Linked DNA regions of Homo sapiens: region 2 is linked to region 1. Evidence: promoter capture Hi-C in human tissues and cell types (Jung and others, 2019). All regions are on one chromosome and are shown on one strand. Each heading gives the region's core, a stretch centred on a gene start or on the middle of the fragment in contact. The rest is flanking DNA. Distances are from core to core; before and after follow the strand shown.

Region 1 (5,466 bases), core at 2,532-5,031:
TGAACTAAAACTTCATATCCTAATTATAAAAAATTACTTGCTAGATCTCATTTGTAGATTATAGGTTGAAAAAAAGCTCAGAGTTCAATCCATAGGCTACATTAATAAATGCAGGTATATCTGCAGTGTATCAGGAAATACACAGACAAATGAAATCCTACCCTCCAGCTGCTCAGTCTAGTTCACATATTTAGTATTTCTTGGAAATCAAAATAATTTTAAATTGCAAATTAAATTGTGTATAAAGTTTACGTAAGGACATATATATAACAAAAGTAAAACTGACAGTCAGTATGTGTGTATTTCTGTTAGCTTCTGAAAATGTTAATGAAAATGACTAAAGATGAGAAGAAAAAAATCTTTCATAGCTCTCATTTTCTATGAATTATTTCATTTTCCTATTTCATTTTCAGCCACTACATATAGTAATTAAAATTAAGGTTCAGCCATTTAAAATGTCACATAGCGTGCAGCCATAAAAAAGAATGAGTTCATGTCCTTTGCAGGGACATGGATGAAGCTGGAAACCATCATGCTCAGCAAACTAACACAGGAACAGACACCAAACACCGCATGTTCTCTTTCATAAGTGGGAGTTGAACAATGAGAATCCATGGACACAGGGAGGGGAACATCACACATCAGGGTCTGTCGGGAGGTTGGGGGCAAGGGGAGGGAGAGCATTAGGACAAATACCTAATGCATGTGGGGCTTAAAACCTAGATGACAGGTTGATAGGTGTAGCAAACCACCATGGCACATGTATACCTATGTAACAAACCTGCAGGTTCTGCACATGTATCCCAGAACTTAAAGTAATATTTTAAAAAAAAAATTAAAAAAATAAAATGTCACACAGCTAAGAAATATAACCATTGGCTTTAAAATGTCACATAGCTAAGAAATAGTAAGAAATATAACTAGTTAGGTAGTTAATGACTATCTAACTTCCATAATCACTGTCCCAATCACAGGTCAGTTTAAAATGCTTGTATTATCTTGATGTACTAGTTCATTATACTTTAATATATTATACTTTAATTGTCTCCTGAGCCACTTTCCACAGCTCTGTGACCGTTCATCAGCCAAATAATAGCTGCGGGCTGACTAGATATTCTCTTTACCTGGGAACTGGCTCACAGAAAACCACAGGGAAAAGTTACTATTAAGAACCTAAGACGAATATGAAAACAATAAATTGTAAAAATAAAGGTAATTATATTTGAACTTAAAAAACTTAAAGTTGACTTAAAAACATCTACTACCGCCCTTTCATTTTAAAGAGAGAGAAACAAAGAATCAGCAAGGTCAAGTAATACGTCCAAGGAAACACAGACAGCGAGTGGCAGGTCTCCTATTTCCAGACAGTACTTTCAGCCACCCACATGGAACGACAGTTGTACACAAATGCATATTAACAGTTAAGAGCAAGTGTGCAATTACATCATCCATTCAGTATCACTTTGTTCTTCAAGATGATCACTTCTAAGAGCACACAGAATCTTATAATTTTCAAGGTGGAAGGGGGATCCTTTAATGGCCCCTCACCATCCAGATGGAGAAACTAATATCCAGAGAGGTAATACTGTTCCACTCCTTCCTTCCGCAAACCTTCACTGGGCTCCTACATTAAGGCAGGTGTTGGCGATACAAAGATAAACAAGAATCACAGTTCTTAAGGAGCTTACGTGGAAGCAGGAGGAAACAGAAGTGCAATAGAACCAGATGGTTATTATGAGAGAGATATTAACTAAGTGGGGCAGAAAGCAGGAACTAATCGATTTCACTTTGTTATAACACTGAACACCATGCATGAAGGGAGATAGCTATTTACACTATTTAATGCTTGGCTACAGTGTTCTATATTAAAAGACATGAAACAGATTTTTAAAGTTCAGTTTCATCAAAAGGGGTAGAGAACTACCATTTTCTCGAGTGTCAGGCACTGTGCCTGGCATTTTATATGCATTATTTAATCCTCAAAAGAACTCTGAGAGGTAAGCATGATTATTACCCCCATTTCTTTTCTTTTCTTTTTTTTTTTTTTTGAGACGGAGTCTCGCTGTGTTGCCCAGGCTGGAGTGCAGTGGCGCGATCTCGGCTCACTGTAACCTCCGCCTCTCGGGTTCACGTCATTCTCCTGCCTCAGCCTCCCGAGTAGCTGGGACTACAGGCGCGCACCACCACGCCCGGCTAATTTTTTTGTATTTTTAGTAGAGACGGGGTTTCACTGTGTTAGCCAGGATGGTCTCGATCTCCTGACCTCGTGATCTGCCCGCCTCGGCCTCCCAAAGTGCTGGGATTACAGGCGTGAGCCACCGCGCCCGGCCCGCCATTTCTTAAAGAAGGAAAACAGCTGAGAGAAGTTCGTCCAGTCAGGATGCACCAGAGCCATAATTTGAATACAGGTTTGCCTGGCTCCAAAATCACATTCCTTTCTTTCTGTTTAACTCTCTCTGCCCAGGATTTTCTTCATTTGTTTAAATCACCCTCCATCTTATTTCTCTTCGGTCTACACTAAGCAATACATCCTGCAATGAATTATTCTAGTCTTATTACTTCCTAAAATCAGGAGCCATAGATTAAAAACCTTAACAAAGGAAAGGCAAGAAAAGGTTCTTGCAATATTTCCACTATTTAAGAAACTCACTCATAAAACCTGAAATACAGACGTAGTGAACTTCTGTAATCATATCTTGCTTAACGGATGCTTAGCTTTTCTACGTTTAGATCACACCATAGCTGCTCCACAAACGTGTTTTTCTTCAAGGTATTGAGAGAACTGACTCTAAAACTTTCCCAAGCACTTGAAACATGTAGGACTACGCGATTTCTTTTGTTGTTTCCATTCCTGTCCAAAACCTCTTGAAAAACAGCAGGCTGAAAAAAGCTGTGCTCTAAGGAGCTAGTGAGGAACTCTGGATGCAAACGATTAGCCCCGAAGCCAGGGAAGTTGGCCGCCTAGCCTGCTACAACACACACCTTTCATCTCCGGCGAAAGGAAAGGTTTTCAAATGCTGCGGTGGGTAGGGGACAGGGATGGAGGAAGAGGCGGCGGGCAGGAGGTGGAAGATAAGTCCCAACCCCTAGAATGAACCCCAGAGTCTCTATATCCCGTAAATGGGCAACAAAATGGGAAGCTTGGCTGCCACCAGGACAGGAAAGCCCTGCTGGACAAGAGTGGCATCTTTTACTGAAAAAGTTGTGTGGAAGTATACGCTAAGCCAGCCTCGTAGTCTCCAGCGATGCAGGTCGTGGAACAACAAAGAAAACCCACCCAAGTAGCCCTTTCTCTGCATTTAAATGAGCAAATCTGGACATTTAAACTGAAACCTCACTCCAAGCCCCCAGGAGAAAAAAACCCACCTCCCCTCGCAACCAGGTTTTCCGGCGGCCGTCGCCTGGCGGCTTCCTGGGCACCGCGATGTGGAGTCCGGGCCAGCTCCCGCCCCGCCCCTCTGCAGCCCGGGCTTACCTCTCTGCGCGCCGCCCGCCGCGCCCGCTAGACCGCAGCGCCCCGCGACCAGCTGGACCAAGAGCAGCAGGCGGAGCGCGCGGGGCCCTGACCCCCGCGCCGCCATCGCCCCGCGCCCGCGCGGGACCGCGGGCAGCCGCCTCTCGACCGCCGCGCGGGGAACGCGAACTCTTGGGGAATGGAGCACTGAGTGTGAGTCGTGAGACAAAACGAGGGCAGACGCAGCAGAGGGGCCGCTCCGCGCCACAGCTCCCGCCGGGACAGCAGCCTCAGCCTAGCAGCTTCTGGCGGGCTCGGGACGCATGTGGAAGCTCCCGGCGCCTAGCCCCGCCCCTATTTCCCTCTGGCCCCGCCCAATCCTCGCCTTGTTCCTTTTGGCCCAGTCCGGTCTATTCATAGCCCCGCCTCCGATCCCCACCAACCCTTTCCCCACCCCGCCCCGCCTCTGGTCCAACCCTGTCTGCTCCTAGCTCCTCTTTTTCCACGCCTGGCCCAGCCCCATCGCCCTGGCCCCCGCCTCCAGGCCTTCCTTTGGGCAGGTGCGACCCTGGAGCAGAGTTCCAGGAAGGCAAAGACTTGAGGCTGGCATCGCAGGCGCGTCCTTCTCTAACCACCGGATGTCCTTGGCCTAGTCACTGCACACCTTAAGATAACAGCTATTCATTGATGTCTGCTCTGTGCTCAGCACCAAAAGGGGAAGCAGAGGGACAGATTGCTCCCAGCTGATAGAAAATGTAAATAAAGTAATTCCGAGTTGTGATCAGAAAGAAACAAGCTGGAGGCTGGGGCAGAATCACAGTGGTGGGGGACTTGCTCCAGGCTGCAGCGCTCTCCATGGGCCCCGCTGCCCACTCAAGTCTTTCTCACCAGGAAGTACCAGTCGCAGCTTGACTGCCTCCTGGGGCTGTCGTGTCAGCCAAGGGGTCCCCACCAGGAGACCTGTGTTGTGGACCAGCGAGACAACCCTGGGCAAGTCACTTTCCTCTCTGGGCCTGTTTCCTCGTCTGGAAGCGAGGAACCGAGGCAGATAAACTAGAGGACTCGGGAAGGTACAGCTCTGACACTCACTCAAGCCATCCCCGGAAATGATATGCAGTCGCCTCAAACGTGGGCATCGCCCTCCGTGTTGTCATCAATTAACATTTGTAAATATTAGTGACTATCTGCTACAGACACTTAGCACCTCTGGTGGAGATTGGTGCCGACTGCTGGAAACCCGTCTCAAATCCCTCCAGACCCTATATTTCATCCTCTCTGTCCATAATTAGAAAGCTTCATTTGGCTGAAGGGATTCAGGCGAATTATCTTTAAACTTCAGTGGCAGAGGGAGCCGCTGACTCTTCACAGAACGCTTTATGGAGGTGACACCTCTAAGACTCATTGTGAGCAAAAATTTCACTCCACCCTCCAGACTAGTAAATCTGTGAAAAACTAAACCTGGTTGCAAAGAATCTAAACAGCAAAATTCAGTGAAGATGCTCTTCTTAGGTCCAAATACAGCTGGAAAAATGTAAATTACATCCAATGGAGCCAATCTGTTTAAACAGGACTTAAACAAAGGGGCCACAGAAAAGGGATGCACAAGATGTTAACCAGATTAGTAATTAATTGCACTTCTGCACAGAAATGAAAGACAGTACCTATCATCCTTTCACTGCAAATTTACATTTTACTCTGAAGAATTTATGGGACTTACAGGCACTTATGCAATTCATCCTAACAGTGTTTGGATGACTTTAAAATGTTATTCTGCTTTTACAGCTAACTGATTTGAAACAGAGGAGTTGAATAACTGCTGAAGGTCACAGTACCTGTCAGTGGCAAAACTAGAATGAAATGGTTGTCAGTGCAGCCACTGCAAGTATAATTGGAACTCCTAGATGTTATATCAATAATCATGAGAATGATGGTTATTTACATAATCTATGAAAAACACTATTAATTGTTGCTATTAAGTGAAAGGCAAAGCGTGACATTTGTTGGGCATTTTA
Region 2 (4,975 bases), core at 1,781-4,280, 330 kb before region 1:
AGCACAGTTGCTTACACCTGTAATCACAGCACTTTGGGGGGCCGAGGCACAAAAATTTGAGGCCAGGAGTTCAAGATCAGCCTGGCCAACATGGCAAAACCCCATCTCTACTAAAAATACAAACATCAGTCAGGCATGGTGGTGTGCACCTGTAATCCCAGCTACTTGGGAGGCTGAGGCCCAAGAATCGTTTGAACCCAAGAGGCGGAGGTTGTAGTGAGCTGTGATCGCATCACTGCACTCCAGCCTGGGCGACAGAGCAAGACTCCATCTCTAAATGAATAAACTTTTTTTTTTTAATTACATAAAAGGGAACGTGAAATGTCAAGTAGTAGAGCACATTCCATAAAGAAACTGAGGTCCAAAGAAGGTATTTATCATTAGTAAAGAAAAGATGATAAATCTTGCCTACATTCTCAAGTCCACGTTGCAGTTTTAAATTTACTGTAAAACGATTGTAATGAGAAAATTCATATACAGAAGTATACAAAGTAGAAACTGAAAACTCCCACCCTCCCTTCCAACACCACGCCCAAGAAATAACCCAGTATTAACTAAGATCCACATTGGAAAGCCAGATCTTATGCAAAGATTAAAATAATGTTTCTCTACAAGTAACAATTACACCATACTCCTCTACTACAGCTTGGCTGTTTTTCAATTGAAAACATGGACATCTTTATCAGTATGTTTAGAGTGACCTCACCCTTTTAATAAGTGCTTGTTTCAAATTCTTCACTATTATAAAAATGCCCTCCAAAAACTTGTAGAAACCAGGATTGCCCTTTTCTCCATTTCTTCAAACATTTAAACCTTAGCCAATCTGACAAGTGCTACTTTACTGACAGTTTATACTTTCATCATTATTTCTGACATATTTTTAATGGTCCTTTGTGCTGCCATTGATGTAAATTTCCTGTCCTACTTTTCACTGGTTTGTTCATTTCTTACCGAAGAACTCTGTGTGTATTAAAGGTACCAACCATTTATCATAAATGGAACACTATAGAACTATGAAAATATTACATTTCTCCTTTCATTATCTTAACAATTTAATTTTAAACTTCAGATTCATCTAGAATTTTGGTACATGACAAGTGTGGCTTTGTTTTCTTCCAAACTGTCAGCTGTCTTATCACCAATCTACCAGACTCCACTGCTTTCCCCTACTGCACCAATATATCATCTATATACCATCTATCATTTCTGAGACTCCCATGTGTTTGCACTTACTTTTACTGCTCCATTACCAACTATCTATGCCTGTACCAATATAATGTTTAATGTTTTAGCATCTATACTGCCAATCCCTCCCATTACACGCTAATTTTCAAATCCATGTTTATAATTTCAAGCACAGACTTACTTTAGGAAATCGTGAAGATAATTGAGTAATAAAGCAAGGCTCTTCTCATCCAGAGGTGTATAAGCCAACATTGCTCCAATTCGTACTGTTTAAACAAGAGAATTTATCCAAAGTTACATCCAAGGCAGGGGCACTACAACCATGTATTTTAATTATGTGAGCAAACACCACCAATTCCTTTAAAATACATGATTTTAGGCCGGGCATAGTGGCTCACGCCTGTAATCCCAGCACTTTGGGAGGCCGAGATAGGCGATCGCTTGAGGTCAGGTATTCAAGACCACCCTGGCGAACGTGGTGAAACCCCATCTCTACAGAAAATACAAAAATTACCACAGATGTGGTGGTGCACACCTGTGATCCCAGCTACTTGGGAGGCTGAGGCAGGAGAATTGTTGAACCCAGGAGGCGGAGGTTGCAGTGAGCAAAGATCGCACCACTGCACTCCAGCCTGGGCAACAGAGACTGTCTGTCTCAAAAAAAAAAAATTATAAAATAAAATACACGATTTTTAAAACTCTTGCTCCTAAAGAGATTTTGCTATTTAACATTCTAGATAAAAGTTCAAATTAAAATGGGAGTCATGTTTTGGAAAGTTAATTACTTTACCTCTTATTCATTTAGAGAAGACCCCCCAAAAAGTAAAATCCATTATTTTCTACATGACATATTACCAAATAATCTCAGGAGATGTGGCGCTCCATACACCTGGGACATGGGTGCATCGGGATGATCTGCAAGAATTTCAGCATACTGTGGTCTCTCAAATTTATAGAGTAGCTGGGTACCCAACATTACGTTGAAGTATTCTTTTATCCCTGCCACAACTTCATTAACCGCATACTCCCTGATAAATGAACAAAAATATTCCAAAACTGGTCAATAAAAATAACTGACATAGAGAATAATTCAACCAATTTAAAGAATTAAAAGCTGAGCTAGTAATAATGAACCATAGCTGAGATTTTTTTAAAGGGCATATGAAAGCAGGGTTTGACAAACTAAAGCAATTAAGATGATTCTTACATTTTCAGATGGTTAAATTTTAAATGGTTATGCAAATACCTACATGATAGCTTAAATTTTACCTAAAATATTTACTATCTGGCCCTTTAAGAAAAAGTCAGCCAGCCAACTCCTGTGTCAAAGCAGTGAAATTCTATTTTGCTAGTTTCTGGTGGTATTAATGTTTCGGAGTCAGTACAAGTTTCAGATGACTTATTTAGAAACTTTTTTAAATGTCTTTTGAGTGTCATCTGAAAAATGTATATTCTTACTTATTATCTGTGTTTCCACGAGATTTCTTGTAATTTGCATAATCCTCAAGAATGGAATCCACATTCTTCTTGGCAGGAAGATAAAAGAGCTATGAAGACAAAAATATGCTTAAATATAAGCACTCTCTTTTTTAAAGAAAAATCATACCAGGCAAGTTTTTATACAAAGATCAGGTAACAGTAACAGTATTTCAAATTAGGAAAGATACTATTCAGCACTTAAAACATGGATAATGTGGCTGAGAAACTACAGACAGTTCCCAACTTACAATGGTTTGGACTTAATTTTCCAACTCTCTGCTGGGTTTATTGCGATGTAACCCCATTCTAAGTTATGGAGCATCTATATATTTAAACAGCCAAATGAGACTCTACTAGACAGAACAGCACAGCTTTTAAAAATGTCAATCTGTCACACACACATAACAGACACGAATGTGCCTTTGTGGTACTACCAAGTCATCATTTACTGTTATGCATACTATTTGCTAGATCTAGTCTAAAGCATTAAAATAATTATCTTTTCGTCCTCTCATCAGCATTGTCAAATACAAACTATTATTCCATTAAATGCAAAAACAGAAGCACAAAAAGGCTAAGAAACTTGTCCAAACTCACAAATAATAAGTGATACAGCCATGCTTGAATCTTCGCAGTTTAGCTGTAACTGCATAACCCTCCAAAGGATTCAAATCAGAATTCAAACTATATCCACATACTGTATATGACTGATAGGTCTCTTAAGTCTCATAATCCTCAAGCAGTCCCTAATCATCTCCCCCAACTATCCCTAACCCTACCTATGCCATTTGTTCAAATAGCTTCATTTGTCCTATAAAATTCTCAATTATAGAGTTCAACGATTGACAAACATGTCACTCCATTAAACATCCTATTTCCTGCAAACTAACAATAGATCCAGGCGCTTAGTAAGATTCAGGTTCTTTTCAGGGTCATGAATACCTTGCAGGTGGTGGTGTGTGCTTTCTATGGCCTACCATTAGCAATGACAGTAAGACATATGCTTCTTCACCTTTATGAATTTTCAGAACGAGTTCCTGCCCTAGCAATCTCCAAAAATGAGTTATTTCCACCTTTATCATTATAACCTCATAAAATTTATATGTGAACTTTTATTCTTCTAACTTACTCTTTCTGGTAGTAGTTCTAAAGTGTTCAGCCTCTAAATTAAAATATTATTTTATCAGTCATACCTTAATAATTCAAGTCAATATAACATTTTCCTTTAAAAACTTTTTTTGCTAGCAAGAATGTATCATATAGCTTAACAATCTGGGTAGCTTTTCAAGTTACCTGTTTTTGCCTGGTAATTAAGTCCCAGTCATCAACAAGCCACGGTTTTAGCTCTTCAGGAATCTTTACTTTAACTTCAACTCTGTTCATGAATGTTTCCTCCTAAACAGAAACAGGAGGAGTATTAAAAACCTAACCTTTCTTGCTAAATACCAAACATGGAGGGGAGCTGACTTTTAGAGGCACTAGGGATAAATCTTAAAGTAGCCAAGCATACAGCTGTACTGTCATTTTTTAAAATCATTAATAAAAACGACCATACGCGGTTCGCTGTTGGGAGAAAAGAATCTGACCTGAACTATAGTCTATTTAGTGCATTTTCTTGTAAAGGTAAAAATTCTTCAGTAAGGTTCCTCTTGTTCAGGAAATGAAACACCCTGACTTGATACATTTTAACTTAGTATTTTCTTATTTACCATGGATATCAAAACTATTCCAAACACAACCATCTTAAAGGTACATCTTTAACTCCTAAAAATAAATACGTAACACCAAAGAAATAGTCTTGTAGGTGAACATGAAGCTTACACAACAAATGATCAATTGGGTAGGTAAATCTGGAGCTACAGGTGAAATAAAGATATACAGAAATTTATCCTTTACCCCCAAAAGAGAAAATTTTTAATTTCAGGTATTAACCATGTAAGCAAATCTTGTAGATAATCAAAGCTCCCATGGTTATGTCATGTAACTGAGACTAAAAATCCTAACATGCTATTCATAAACACAAGAAAAACTCACATTTTCAACAGTAGGATCTACCCGGGCCCTTTTCTTCCGAGGAGGCTGAGGGGTCTCACTGGTACTGCCACCATCTCCATTTCCAGGTGCTGTAAATGTTGGCGGGGAGGGGTCTCATTTAGCTAATTTAACAAACTCTATAAGGAAAATAGTCTCTTGACACATTAACCCTTTTCATTATTTCTCCATTACACAGCTGTTACCTCAATCTAAGTTAAAGAATCATATTCCTACCAAAAATACAACTTTCATGAAGAGCTCTACCGAACATTTAGTA

What was found. The method cuts DNA at HindIII sites, captures the fragments that hold promoters and counts their contacts. A contact is called where the count stands out against the background at its distance.
Region 2: a contact is called between a fragment that was not itself captured here and the fragment with the promoter of CHRNA5 in region 1, in 2 of the 25 tissues and cell types used here (dorsolateral prefrontal cortex and spleen).

What each region holds. Positions count from the first base shown.
Region 1 is chr15:78,563,835-78,569,300 of GRCh38, reverse strand. CHRNA5 (cholinergic receptor nicotinic alpha 5 subunit) reads right to left here and starts at 3,781. Exons shown (of 6, transcript NM_000745.4): 1 at 3,476-3,781. The coding sequence starts at 3,581. RefSeq lists a silencer at 3,494-3,583 and an enhancer at 4,394-4,583. The HindIII fragment of the contact is 8,456 bases long and covers 1-5,466 here.
Region 2 is chr15:78,891,296-78,896,270 of GRCh38, reverse strand. MORF4L1 (mortality factor 4 like 1) reads right to left here. Exons shown (of 12, transcript NM_006791.4): 7 at 4,699-4,787; 8 at 3,958-4,059; 9 at 2,644-2,732; 10 at 2,041-2,213; 11 at 1,367-1,451. Among named protein-coding and RNA genes, the nearest start is that of MORF4L1, 21 kb to the right of the region's middle. The HindIII fragment of the contact is 8,549 bases long and covers 1-4,975 here.